Linked DNA regions of Homo sapiens: all the other regions are linked to region 4. The links are contacts of gene promoters, found by promoter capture Hi-C in human tissues and cell types (Jung and others, 2019). All regions are on one chromosome and are shown on one strand. The core of a region is centred on a gene start or on the middle of the fragment in contact, and the rest is flanking DNA. Distances in the headings are between cores, read along the strand shown. Region 1 holds the start of LOC105370411 (a long non-coding RNA gene). Region 2 overlaps LINC00596 (long intergenic non-protein coding RNA 596). Region 3 has its middle 20 kb from the start of DHRS4L2. Region 4 holds the start of AP1G2 (adaptor related protein complex 1 subunit gamma 2).

Evidence for each region. The method cuts DNA at HindIII sites, captures the fragments that hold promoters and counts their contacts. A contact is called where the count stands out against the background at its distance.
Region 1: a contact is called between a fragment that was not itself captured here and the fragment with the promoter of AP1G2 in region 4, in 1 of the 25 tissues and cell types used here (stomach).
Region 2: a fragment that was not itself captured here is called in contact with the fragment with the promoter of AP1G2 in region 4 in 1 of the 25 tissues and cell types used here (lymphoblastoid cells).
Region 3: a contact is called between a fragment that was not itself captured here and the fragment with the promoter of AP1G2 in region 4, in 3 of the 25 tissues and cell types used here (dorsolateral prefrontal cortex, lymphoblastoid cells and spleen).

The regions. Positions count from the first base shown.
Region 1 is chr14:23,927,834-23,931,396 of GRCh38, reverse strand. It overlaps LOC105370411 (a long non-coding RNA gene), which reads left to right and starts at 1,383. Exons shown (of 2, transcript XR_943618.2): 1 at 1,383-2,191; 2 at 3,376-3,483. It also overlaps a transcript of LINC00596 not described here. The HindIII fragment of the contact is 9,325 bases long and covers 1-3,563 here.
Region 2 is chr14:23,886,834-23,890,337 of GRCh38, reverse strand. The region is part of intron 2 of LINC00596 (long intergenic non-protein coding RNA 596); the gene reads left to right. Among named protein-coding and RNA genes, the nearest start is that of LINC00596, 14 kb to the left of the region's middle. The HindIII fragment of the contact is 5,012 bases long and covers 1-3,504 here.
Region 3 is chr14:24,007,429-24,010,809 of GRCh38, reverse strand. It overlaps the pseudogene DHRS4L1. Among named protein-coding and RNA genes, the nearest start is that of DHRS4L2, 20 kb to the right of the region's middle. The HindIII fragment of the contact is 5,422 bases long and covers 1-3,381 here.
Region 4 is chr14:23,565,768-23,569,252 of GRCh38, reverse strand. AP1G2 (adaptor related protein complex 1 subunit gamma 2) reads left to right here and starts at 1,462. Exons shown (of 22, transcript NM_003917.5): 1 at 1,462-1,514; 2 at 1,934-2,142; 3 at 2,567-2,691; 4 at 2,834-2,975; 5 at 3,093-3,189; 6 at 3,361-3,437. The coding sequence starts at 1,939. It overlaps JPH4 (junctophilin 4), which reads left to right. Exons shown (of 6, transcript NM_001146028.2): 6 at 1-1,215. AP1G2-AS1 (AP1G2 antisense RNA 1) reads right to left here. Exons shown (of 4, transcript NR_110555.1): 3 at 1,831-3,485; 4 at 1,177-1,564. RefSeq lists silencers at 271-370, 1,360-1,409 and enhancers at 1,890-2,129, 2,160-2,249. The HindIII fragment of the contact is 7,450 bases long and covers 1-2,193 here.

The sequences.
Region 1 (3,563 bases), core at 418-2,917, 360 kb before region 4:
GCCCACCACTCACCTCCTGCTGTGCAGCCTGGTTCCTAACAGGTCATGGACTTGTCTGGTCTGTAGCCCAGGGATTGGGGACCCCTGATCTAAATAGCAAAGCTGAATAAAGTATGCCTATCCCATCTGATATAAATTGAGAGTTGTTAGGATTTGGCATGGCGCATCAGGGTGTTGAGTAATCTGGTGTTCATCAGTATTGACAGGTAGAGAAGATAAGGATGTTTTGAGCTCATCAAGACAGGAGCAGACACCTGTTGGGACAAGAGAGCACAGCAGCAGGCTGGTTCTCCCATCCTCGTACCCTATCATATGATGCTGGTCAGGAGGAGACTGGGGAAATATTGTGATATTATAGGTTAAATCTTTGGGAAAGCATTTTTTGAGTCAGGCTTGGTCTGGACATTGTCTGACTCCCGTGGCTTGGAGGTTGCCAGGGCGATGACACATTCCTTCAAGATTTTGGTTTCTTTCCTGGCCAGATCTAGCAGAGCCAAGTTTTCTTGGGTGCCTGCAGGCTGTCAGAAGAACTCCATCCTTGCTTCTCTGTCACTACTGTGCACTGAATCCTGCCTGAAATCCTCCACTTCCGCCTTTGGCTAGGAACCCTTCCTTTCTTCCCTGCTGGACCCAGGGAGGAGGAGAGGCAACATCACAACTTTCTGTGCTTCCATCATAGCTGTGGGACTGTCTCTGTGTAAAGTCCTGCTGGCCTAGAGTTTCTAGCTTCTAGTGTCACCTGTGGAACTACAAAATTTATCCTTATTCCAGGTTAAGTTCCTCTGCTATGCATTCTCATGTACTTCCTTTTTGAAATAATTATTAACTGAATGAGTGCTTATTTAATATTTATTTTCCTGAGCTAGACTATGAGCTCCATAAGATCTGGAACGAAGTCTGTCTTGGTCACTGCCATATTCCTATTGCCAAGCACAACAAAATCATTGTAGGCATTTCAAAGAGGGAATTTAAAACAGGAAATTGGTTACACGTTGGACTGGGCTGAGAAGCCAAATGGGCTGGTGAAACAACCACATATTAGTGGCAGCGGAAGCTGCTACCATCCTGAGGGCTGGAAGGACACAAGAAAGGAGTGGGGAACAACTTCATTCTGATTAACTTCATTCTGAATTATATGGAATTAAAAAATTTTTCTTCTGGTAGGAGTGCCCACAATACTAGTAAAAATGTAGGCCATTTAACATTACCCTATTTGAAATCCACCATAGCCTTCTTGAGTTTCAAATCTGAAATCTGCAGGGATAATGTTTCTCAAAATGACAAAAGCACCATTTCTGAGGCAAAGATCCAGCCTGTCCTGGGCAGGTTGGCCCTTGGTTAGGATTTCAGGTCACGCTTGCAGATAGATCCATCACGCTTCCATCTCAGATGGGCTGTGACCTTTTGGATGCAGAGAAGGCTGTAATGCCACTTTTGTCCACCAGAGGGCTGCAGGGTCTCCCCTCACAGTCCAAACGGCTGAGATTTGGTGACTCAACCATGCCTTGGCAGGGTGCTGCCTTGAGGGGTCTCCTCTTAAGTACCTCATGTGTTGGAGGAGATCTGGGGGTGCAGAGGCTGCCCTGATTCCAGAAGGGAGGAATTTTGTATTCGGTTCCCTCATTTTCTCTCTCCCGGCTTCATTTTATGTTTCATAACAATTGATTTGAACAATTTAAAAATCGGGAAATCAAAGTGGGGGTGTGTGTGTGTGCATTTTGTGGGCAGGGTAGCAAGAAGTGGGAATAATTCTGGTTACATTAATTCATGCCTGAACTCGCAGCTTAAACATTATTTAATGTTGTAGAAATTCAGAGATGGAAAAGTGACCTTGGAAATAATTTAGCATCCCTTCATTTATAGCCAAAGAAATGAATGCGGCCCTTGCCGCTTGCGAGATGCCTGGAAGGTTCAGAGCCTTTAGGAATGCAGCTAATATGTAAGGTTATTAAAGCGTTTTTGGTAAGATTTTATTTCAGTATTCCAATCTTTCTTCCCTTTTCTTAGACTCAGCCTGAGCCTTAACAGCAGCAACAAAGCACAAAAAGGCATTTTTCAGTTTTCCATTGAAAGTACTTGGCTTTCTTGTTCTAATCCCATAATTAGACTTTGGATTCTTTCCAGACTCCATTGAATCAGAAGATAGAAAGGCCTGACATGGTAGAAAAAAATTATCCGGGAAAATATTGGAGTGAGTAGAAAACCAGTCAAACTCCTAATTGCAAATTCTCTTAAAATTAATTGAAAAATGTTACTAAAGAATTTTCAGCAGTACAGCAAAGACCAGTCACTGAAGTAACTTAAGGGAGAATGCACTAAACTGAAAAAAAATCAATGTGGGTTTTCTAAAAAAGTTTCAAAAAACACCCAATGAGCCCACACAAAAAACTTTATTTTAATTAATCCCAAAGAAAGAAACAACCACAGGGAACCATACACAGAATTCAGAAAATGGCTGGAGCCTCTTTTCAAAGAAATCAAGTGGACATTACATCCTCCCTAGTGAAAGTCAGAATAAAAAAGAATGAAAGTAATGATTATTGCAAAAGACACATTGAAAATCATGTTTAAACTGCACAAAGCAGAAATGGCACTTAAATCAGTAAAGAAACCTGAGCAATAGATCCAGAATTTAAAGAAACTAAATTAAGAAATGAAACACTTCAGGAGGGCAGATCTGGGGAATAGATCTGAGTATTGCAATTTCTGAATAGTTAGACTTCCTGAGTAAGCCAAAGAAAGAAAAGGTCCTAAATCAATAACTAAAGATGCAGGAATACTTTATTCCAGAATCAATAAGAGATTAGACTTGAAATAGAGAAGAGTTACATGGTCTAACAGAATAGTTACGAACATTTAGGAAACAGTTCTCACACTTATACATCTTTTCATTTGATTTTTACAACAATGTGAGGTAGACAGATATTATTAATCTCCCATCTTACAGATAGAAATTAACCTCCAAGAAACTGAGTGATTTGCCCAAGGGATATAACTAGTAAGTGAAGAGTCCAAGTTCAAGTCCAGGTCCTGCTCTCCAAAGTGGGAGGGGTCTTATATATATTTTAAATAATAAGGGAAATACATCTTTGATGACATGCAAAAAGAGAAGATCTCTTAAAAGAATATACATTGGAAACACGATTGGATTTTCTAGTAACATAAAAAGAGCTCAGTGGATATGAAACAATGTTACCAAGGATGAGAGAGAGAGAGAGAGAGAGAGAGAGAGAGAGAGAGAGAGAGAGAGAGAGAATGCATCCCCACCATACTTGACCTTGCCAAACTGCCTTTCATGTGGGGCGCGACAAAGAACTAAAAGCTCTTTGAGGTCCTAGAAATCCAACCAGTCACTCACTCACATTATTCCAACAGGCTCTGAGGACTGCTTCTAACAGAAGTCTGCATTAAACACAGAAACCTAAAGAGAAGACATTGACCTGAGTTATTTATTTATTACAGAAATATATAAACAGAACATCATGAGGAAGCATTTTTTGTTGATAAGTATAATTATTGTATTTGATGGAACAAAAGTAAGATGTGTCCTTATACCTGTATGA
Region 2 (3,504 bases), core at 270-2,769, 320 kb before region 4:
TTGTATTAGTGCACTGAAGTGATCTAGATGACTGCAGTTCTTTCCCATAAATCTTGTCAGCGAGAGAATTACAAGAAATTGAAAGAAGTTCACAGTACATTCACTTCTAGCTTACATAATTCAAATTTTTTTAACATTTAGAAGAGTAAAGCTCTTGTGGGGCAGCTGCTGGGCATGAAAGTTTGCTCCTGATTTTCTATTGCCCCTGTCGAGCATGTTCACTACTGTCAGGGAGTCAGTTGTTTATCAGGGAAGGTTAGGGAGGAAAATCCAGGGGGATATACTGACATCGGCAGCCTACCCTCCCTCCTTTTGTGCAATGCAGTGCTTGCCATTTATCAATACCCTCTTTTATCTTACATTAAATATTGAGAACGGATGCAACCAAATGACCACAGTTCTGCATCTCACTGCCGCACAGGACAGAAAGCTTTCTAAAAAAATTGCCAACGTGGCTGCTCTGTCACTGCCCTTCACTGGAAAACCTCAGTATCACCCAAACTGCAAAGTTCAACAGCTGATTTTTTTCAATCATTTTTTCTTCTCTTATTTTCAAATATTTAATTGACAATTTAGATTGTGTATCTCACATTCGAAGTGTACAATGTGACGATTTTATATATAAATGCATTGTGTAATAATTATCAAAATCAAATTAACACATCTGTCACCACCCATGCTGTATTTTAACTCTCCAGAACTTGTTTATCTTATGACTGAAGGTTTGTCCTCTTCGATCAACATCTCCCTATGTCTCCTTAACCCCCATCGCTGGCAACCATTATTCTACTCTCTGTTTCTATAAGTTCAACTCTTTTAGACTCCACATATAAGTGAGATCATACAGTATATGTCTTTCTGTATCATTTATTTCATTAAACATGTTGTCCTTCAGGTTGATTCATGTTGTCACAAATGGTAGTGTTTCCTTTTTTAATGGCTGAATATTTGTCATACACACACACTCACATATATATAAACACACACCACAATTTCTTTATGCATTTATCCATCGATTGACACTTAGTAGTTTCCAAGTCTTGGCTATTGTGAGTAATGCTGAAATGAACATGGGAGGGCGGGTATTTCATCGAGCTACTGATTTCGTTTCCATTGCATATATACTCAGAAGTGAGATTGCTAGATCATATGGTTATTCTAGCTTTAATTTTTGAGGAAACTCCATACTGTTTTCCATAATGGCCATATCAATTTACATTTCCACTAATAGTGTACCTGTTTCTCTCCATCCTTACTAACATATATCTTTTGTCTATTTTGATAACAGTCATCCTGACATGAGAGGTGACATCTCATTGTGGTTTTTATTTACATTTCCTTGGTGATTAGAGATGTTGAGCACCTGTTCATGTAGCTGTTAGCCACTTGTATGCATTATTTGGAGAAATATCTATTCAGGTTCTTTGCCCATTTTAAAATTGGATTATAAGTTTTTGTTATTAGGTTGTATGACTTCTTTGTATATTTTAGATATTAATCCCTTATCAGATATATGGCTTACAAACATTTTCACCCATTCGGTAAGTTGCCTTTTTGTTTTATTGTTCTTTTTTTTGTGCAGAAACTTTTTAGCTTGATGTAGTTACTTATTTATTTTGCTTTGGTTACTTTTGCTTTTGGTGTCATATCCAAAAAGTAATTGCAATGACTAATGCCAAGCAACTTTTTTTTCTATTTTTTTCTAGAATTGTTATGGTTTCAGATCTTACATTTAAAAGTCTTTAATTCAAATCAAGTTAATTTTTGTGAGTGGTGTAAGATAAAGGCCCAATTTTATTCTTTTGCATGTGGACATTCAGTTTTCCCAGCACCATTTATTGAAGAGATGATCCTTTCCCCATTGTGTGTTCTTAGTACCTTTGTCAAATATTAACTGATTGTATATGTGTGGGTTTATTTCTGGGGTCTTGATTCTGTTCTATTGATCTATTTATCTGTTTTTATGTCAGTACCATACTGTTTTGATTACAATGCTTTTGTAATATACTTTGAAATCAGGAAATGTGATGCCTATAGCTTTGCTCTTCTTTCTCAAGATTACTGTAGCTATTTGGGGTCTTTTGTAGTTCCATACGAATTTTAAAATTGTCCTTTCTATTTCTGTGAAGAATGCAATTGGAATTTTGACAGGAATTTGATTGAATTTGTAGATTGCTTTGGGTAGCGTGAATATTTTCACAATACTAATTTTTCCAATCCATGAACATGGAATATCTTTCCATTTATTTGTATATTCTTCAATTTCTTTCATCAGTATCTTATAGTTTCCAGTGTACAAGTCTTTCACCTCCTTGGTTAAATTTATTCCTAGGTATTTTATTGTTTTCGATGCTATTATAAATGGAATTATTTTCTTTATTTCTTTTTCAGATATTTCATTGTTAGTGTATAGAAATGCAACTAATTTTTTTGGTGTTGATTCTGTAGCTGCAATTTTACTGAATTTGTTGATTAGTCTTAATAGTTTATTGGTGGAGTCTTTAGAGTTTTCTTATATAAAATCATGTCATCTTCAAACAGAGACAATTTTACTTCTTCCTTTCCTATTTTGATTCCTTCCTTCCTTCCTTCATTTCCTCCTCCTCCTCCCTTTCCTCCTCCTCCTCTTCCTTTTCTTTCTTTCTTCCTTTCTATCTCCTTCCTTCCTTCCTTCCTTCCTTCCTTCCTTCCTTCCTTCCTTCTTCATTGCTTGGCTAGGACTTACAGTACTACGTTGAATGGAAATGATGAGAGTGGGCATCTTTGTCTTATTCCTAATCTTAGCAGAAAAGCTTTTGACTTTTCACTGTTGAGTATGATACTAGCTGTGGGCTTGTCATATATGGCCTTTGGTATGTTGAGGCACATTCCCTCTATACCTAATTTGTTAATAGTTTTTACCATGAAAGGATGTTGTGTTTCATCAAATGCATTTTTTTTGCATTTATTGATGTGATCATATGATTTTTAGTTTTCATTCTATTAACATAGTGTATCACATTTGTTGATTGTATGTGTTGAACCATTCTCACATCCCAAGGATAAATCCTTCTTGATCATGGTAAATGATCATTTTAGTAGGCTGTTCAATGTGGTTTGCTAGCATTTTGTTGAGTATTTTTACATCTATGTTCATCAGGGATATGGGTCTGAAATTTTATTTTCTTACAGTGTTTTTATCTGGCTTTGGTGTCAGAGTATTGCTGGTCTTATAAAATGAGTTTGGAAGAGTTTTTTCCTCTTCAATTTTTTGGACAATTTTGAGTAGGATTGGCATTAATTCTTCTTTTAATGTTTGGTAGAATTCACCTGTGACACTAGCTGGTCCTGGAATTCTGTTTGTTGGGAGATTTTTTTTTTTTCAAGAAGTAAGCTTAAATCTCATGTTGGGAGGTTTTATTAAAAATTATTAATTCAGGCTGGGCACAGTGGCTCACGTCTGTAATCCTAGTACTTTGGGAGGCTGAGGTGGGCAGATTACCTGAGGTCAGGAGTTCAAGACCA
Region 3 (3,381 bases), core at 25-2,524, 440 kb before region 4:
AGGTGTATCCAGCAGTTCCAGAAAGACAGTGACCAGCAAAAACAGGCCATGGTGACAATGACAGTTTTGTCAAAAAGAAAAGGGGGATATGTAGGGAAAAGAAAGAGAGATCAGACTGTTACCGTGTCTATGTAGAAAGGGAAGACATAAGAGACTACATTTTGAAAAAGACCTGTACTTTAAATAATTGCTTTTCTGAGATGTTGTTAATTTTTAGCTTTGCCCCAGCCACTTTGACCCAACCACTTTGACCCAACCTGGAGCTCACAAGAACATGTGTTGTATGAAATCAAGGTTTAAGGGATCTAGGACTGTGTAGGACGTGCCTTGTTAACAAAATGTTTACAAGCAGTATACTTGGTAAAAGTCATCGCCATTCTCTAGTCTCAATAAACCAGGGGCACAGTGCACTGCAGAAAGCCGCAGGGACCTCTGCCCTTGAAAGCAGGGTATTGTCCAAGGTTTCTCCCCATGTGATAGTCTGAAATATGGCCTCCTGGGATGAGAAAGACCTGACTGTCCCCCAGCCCGACACCCATAAAGGGTCTGTGCTGCGGTGGGTTAGTAAAAAAGGAAGGCCTCTTGCAGTTGAGATAGAGGAAGGCCACTGTCTCCTGCCTGCTCCTGGGAACTAAAAGTCTCGGTATAAATCCCGATTGTACATTTGTTCAGTTCTGAGATGAGAGAAAAACCGCCCTATGGTGGGAGGCGAGACATGTTTGCAGCAATGCTGCCTCGTTATTCTTTACTCCACCGAGATGTTTGGGTGGAGAGAAACATAAATCTGGCTTACGTGCATGTCCAGTCATAGTACCTTCCCTTGAACTGAATTATTAGATTCTATTGCTCACGTTTGTTGCTGACCTTCTCCTTATTATCACCCTGCCCTCCTACTACATTCCTTTTTACTGAAATAATGACGATAATAATCAATAAAAACTGAGGGAACTCAGAGACCGGTGCCGGTGCAAGTCCTTGGTATGCTGAGCGCCGGTCCCCTGGGCTCACTGTTGTTTCTCTATACTTTGTCTCTGTGTCTTATTTCTCTTTCTCAGTCTCTCGTCCCACCTGACTAGAAATACCCACAGGTGTGGAGGGGCAAGCCACCCCTTCAAACAGTAGCAACCTGCTTGGGTCCCCTTCCACACTGTGGAAGCTTTGTTCTTTCGCTCTTTGCAATAAATCTTGCTGCCCCTCACTCTTTGGGTCCACACGGCCTTTATGAGCTGTAACACTCATCGTGAAGGTCTGCAGCTTCACTCCTGAGGCCAGTGAGGCCACGAACCCAGTGGGAGGAATGAACAACTCCGGATGGGAGGAACGAACAACTCCAGACATGCCGCCTTAAGAGCTGTAACACTCACTGTGAAGGTCCGCAGCTTCACTCCTGAAGCCAGCGAGACCACGAACCCACCAGAAGGAAAAAACTCTGAACGTGTCTGAACATCAGAAGGAACAAACTCCGGACACGCTGCCTTTAAGGACTGTAACACTCACTGCGAGGGTCCGTGGCTTCATTCTTGAAGTCAGTGAGACCAAGAACCCACCAATTCCAGACACACCTTCATTTTGAGCCTATGTGTGTCTTTGCACGTGAGATTGGGTCTCCTGAATACAGCACACCATATGGGTCTTGATTCTTTATCCAATTTGCCAGTCAGTGTCTTTTAATTGGGGCATTTATCCCATTTACATTGAAGGTTAGTATTGTTATATGTGAATTTGATCCTGTCATGACGTTAGCTGGTTATTTTGCCCATTAATTGATGCAGTTTCTTCATAGCATCAATGGTCTTTACAATTTCGTATGTTTTTGCAGTGGCTGGTACTGGTTGTTCCTTTCCATGTTTAGTGCTTCCTTCAGGAGCTCTTATTGTAAGGCAGGCCTGGTGGTGACAAACTCTCTCAGCATCTGCTTGTCTGTAAAGGATTTTATTTCTCCTTCACTTACGAAGCTTAGTTTGGCTGGATATGAAATTCTAGTTCCAAAAATCTTTTCTTTCAGAATGTTGAATATTGGTCCCGACTCTCTTCTGGTTTGTATGGTTTCTGCTGAGAGATCTGCTGTTAGTCTGATGGGCTTCCCTTTGTTGGTAACCCAACCTTTCTCTCTGGCTGCCCTTAACCTTGCTGAATCTGACAATTATGTGTCTTGGGGTTGCTCTTCTCAAGGAGTGTCTTTGTGATGTTCTCTGTATTTCCTGAATTTGAATGTTTCTTTTTTCTTTTCTTGTCTCTAATCTTGTGTTCTCACTTTATTTCATTAATTTTATATTCAATCACTGATATCCTTTCTTCCACTTGATTGAATCAGCTATTGAAGCTTGTGTATCCTTCATGAAGTTCTTGTACTGTGGTTATCAGCTCCATCAGGTCATTTAAGCTCTTCTCTAGATTCTTCATTCTAGTTAGCCATTCGTTTAACATTTTGTCAAGGTTTTTAGCTTCCTTGCAATGGGTTAGAACATGCTCCTTTAGCTGGGTGTAGTTTGTTATTACTGACCTTCTGAAGCTTACGTCTGTCAAGTCATCAAACTTATTCTCCATCCAGTTTTGTTCCCTTGCTGGTGAGGACTTGTATTCCTTTGGAAGAGAAGAGACGTTCTGATTTCTGGAAGTTTCAGCCTTTTTGCTCTGGTTTCTCTCCATCTTTGTGGTTTTATCTACCTTTGGTCTTTGATGTTGGTGACCTATGGATGGGGTTTTAGTGTGGATGTCCTTTCCTGTTCTGATGTTGATGCTGTCCTTTGCTGATGTTGATGCTATTCCTTTCTGTTTGTTAGTTTTCCTTCTAACAGGCCCCTCAGCTGCAGGTCTTTGGGGGTTTGCTGGAAGTCCATTCCAGACCTTATTTTCTTGGGTATCAGTAGAGGAGGCTGCAGAACAGCAAATATTGCTGCCTGATCCTTCTTCTGGAAGCTTTGTTCCACAGGGGCACCCACCTGTATGAGGTGTCTCTCTGCCCCTACTGGGCGGTGTTTTTCAGTCAAGCTACATGGGGGTCAGGGACCCACTTGGGGAGGCAGTCTGTCCGTTATCGGAGCACGAACTCCGTGCTGGGAGAACCACTGCTGTCTTTAGAGATGTCAGGCAAGGACACTGAAGTCTGCAGAAGCTGTCTGCTGCCTTTTGCTCAGATATGCCCTGGCCCCTGAGGTGGAATCTGGAGAGGCAGTAGGCCTTGCTGAGCTGCGGTGGGTTCCGCCCAGTTAGAGCTTCCCTGCAGCTTTGTTTACACTGTGATCATAGAACGCCTACTGAAGCCTTAGCAATGGAGGACTTCCCTCCCCCACGGCCCCGTTAATTGATGCAGTTTCCGCACCCCCCCCACGGCCCTCTCCACCCTACCTGTCAAGCTCCAGCTCCAGCGGAGGATGCTCC
Region 4 (3,485 bases), core at 213-2,712:
TTTGGTGTCCTAAGGAGACTCCTGGAAGCTGAATGGAGAGGAGGAAGAAAATGAAGAAGGAGTGATTGAATGTCGGGCAAGGCACTGGCTGAGCTGCTGTGGCTCCCTAGCCTAAGGGGCCTGCTGTCCCTCTGAGGCCTAGTGAAAAAGCTGCAGGAGGTGCATCCTCCACCTCTAATCTTGGAGGCTATTATCTTACCTCCAAGCACTGAGCTGGGTTACTGCCCAATTCCATCCTTCCCTGAAGGAGAGAAGGGAAGTGAAAAGTAGAGTAACTCCCCAGCATTTCCCTCTTTTTCTCCTCATCGGCCAGCCCCTCCTCCAGCCCCCTCTGGTGGCATGCCATGCCAAGAGCAACGTGTAAAGGAACAGAGAATATCCAATGCAGTCAAGTCCACCCTGCCCAGACTTTGCCACTGACTTCTCCCACCCTTCTGTCTCCCCCATAATAGTTTATTTGGTTGGTCTGGACTCACTTGTGGCCTTTGATTAAATTCCTAAGGGGCCTGAAGAAGACATTTCTACTGCAGAGGGTTAGAGGCACTTGAGCAAGGCCCCCACATCCCAACTCTGGGAGTTGTGGTGGGAGGAGGCACTTCTGGGGGATAGGACCAGACAAGATAACAGGAGCTCACATGGAAGCAGAAGCTGTGACAAGTTTAGTAGTCCCAAAATGGGTTATATCCCTTCCCCCTTTACATCAGAATCTTGTGAAATGGGAAAACAACAGAAGGAGGGGATCAAAGATAGCTGATCTCACATGCTTCCCAGGCAGGGCAGAGGTGGGAGTCAAACCCGGGTGACAGGTGGGTGGAGAGCCCTGTTTGAGGTTGTGGCTGATCCCTCTCTGGTATTAGTTTTTCCCCTGGGAGCAGGAAGCCCTAGGAAGAGGGGACTGCAGGGTCCCCAGGGGATCTTTCCTCCCTCCCCTGCATGAGGCAGAGGCAAGCTGCCTGCCAACCCCCTCCCTCAAGGAATGGCCTTGCCCAGGAATGCCCACCACACATACCCTCTTCTTTTTTTCTAGTCAAACTCTTGTTTATTCCTTGGCTTGCCTCCCTCCTTCCTCCCCTCTCAACCTTTACTTCTGATTTCTATTTCATGGAATTTGGGATTGAAGTTAAACTACAACAGTGCCGCCAACACCAAGTCTTGCAGGAAAAAAATACAAAGAAATTTAACAAAAAAAATATATTAATAAAAAAGTTCAAAAAAGGGGGGGGATTGTCATCTCCTTTGGGGTGCGATGGCTTCAAATCCAAACTGAGGCTCTCCGGGTGGTAAGGATGTGCGAGGAGGCCTCTTGAAGAACTCCAGGCCTATCATGCTGTCTCTCCGCTAAAGCCTGAGGCCCGAGGTCAGAGGATTCAGGAAGGCTCTGCAGTCGGCCCAGGAGGGCGGGGTCCCGTGGTGGAGGCGGGGAGAGGGAAGGACCGCACGGAGCACCAACCCCTGCTCGGCCCCGTACCAGGAAGCGCTGGGGGGCAGAGGAGCGGAGTTGAGGCAGAAGCCAGGTGAGGCTGGAGTCCTGGGGTAGGCAGGCTGTCGCTGCCGCTGCCGCTGCCTGAGATGGAAATCGGGGGAGGAAGCTCGCGGAAGAAACAGCGGAGGGTCGTGGAAAAAAAAGCAATGGCTGAGCTAGGGATGGGGTACCAGGTAGGGGGAGGAAACGGTAGAGAGAAATAGGTGGGGCTCCCGCGCATGCTCAATAGGAAGGGGCGCCGGTGGGGTGCGGACGCATGCGTAGTGGGCTTCTCGGGCGGTGGGGTGGGCGCGGAATTTGGAGACCCACTTCGGGAAAGGTAAAATGCGGGCGCAATTTTAGGGTACCTGTGGGACCCGGGCTCTTAGGGTCTTGACACAGGACGGGCCTGGGCCGAAAGCCCAGGCACGCCCGACCAGAGAGTGTTTCTCCACTCCCGGACTCTGCCAGTCAGGATGGTGGTGCCTTCGCTGAAGCTTCAGGACCTCATCGAAGAGATTCGCGGGGCCAAGACTCAGGCCCAGGAGCGGGAGGTGATCCAAAAGGAGTGTGCCCACATCCGGGCCTCCTTCCGCGACGGGGACCCAGTGCACAGGCACCGGCAGCTGGCCAAACTGCTCTACGTCCACATGTTGGGCTACCCCGCCCACTTTGGACAGGTACTGGCCAGGAATACCTCCCTCCTGAGCTTGATGAAGGCTAGTGGGGCAGAGTCCCAGACTCTCTCACCTGTTTATGCCCTGGTTTTTTAAATTCTACAATTTCAGAGTCTTCACAGCCTGCACTGCAAACCTCTTTCCCCATTGCTACCCCTACTGGTCATCAGCTGGCCTGAACCCTTCATTCTCTGGCCAGCCTCCTTTAGGGCAGGCATCTCCTCCTCTCCGCTCCCATCCTCCTCAACTCCTAGTTCCTCCTACCCACTAACGCCTGAATTTCCTAAGCTTCTCCTCTTGTTGAAGGGAGAGTGATGAGATATGATGCCCCACAGGTTAATCTGGTTTTAAAGAGGAAGATGGAACAGGGATGTGAGTGTCTATGGTTTCACCCCTGCCTCTTCCTGGTCTGCCCCCTTCACTATAGATGGAGTGCCTGAAACTGATCGCCTCCTCCAGATTCACAGACAAGAGGGTGGGCTACCTGGGGGCCATGCTTCTATTGGATGAGAGGCACGATGCCCACCTGCTCATTACCAACAGCATCAAGAAGTGAGAGGGTTCTGGCAATCACTTGGAATCAGGGAGATGGGAGAGTAGGGACCTTGGAAATCCCAGGGGACTGCCTGTTGTGGGTATTGAAAAGGACTGATTTTCTCAGAGGTTTGACTGACCGTCCTCCCAAACCCTGCAGTGACCTGAGCCAGGGGATTCAGCCAGTACAAGGCCTGGCCTTGTGCACTTTGAGCACCATGGGCTCTGCTGAGATGTGCCGAGACCTGGCCCCAGAGGTGGAGAAACTGCTCCTGCAGCCCAGTCCCTACGTGCGCAAGAAGGTGAGATGGCGGGACTCCTGGCACGTGCTCCTGCACACTGCCTGCTGCGTGCTATATAGTAGTAGATGCAGGGGTCCATCTCCTCTGACCCCTGTCTGAGGCCCCTGACCTCTGCAGGCTATTCTGACTGCAGTGCACATGATCCGGAAGGTCCCTGAACTCTCCAGTGTCTTCCTCCCACCCTGTGCCCAACTGCTTCATGAGCGTCACCATGGTAAGGCTGTGGGGCCCCCCATCCTTTGCTTCAGGTCTATGGACAGAAGAATTGAAAATCGGATGGGAACCCCAGCTCACAGGAGAAGGGTAGTGCACACACACAGGCACACACGCAATAGACTCTCTTGCCCCTGGCCCCCACCATTCACTTCCCCGACGCTGACCCCAGGCATCCTGCTGGGCACCATCACGCTGATCACGGAGCTCTGCGAACGAAGCCCTGCAGCCCTCAGGCACTTCCGAAAGGTGGGCTGGTGAAGGGGCAGGCCCTGGGCCTGGAAGACAGGGTCAGTG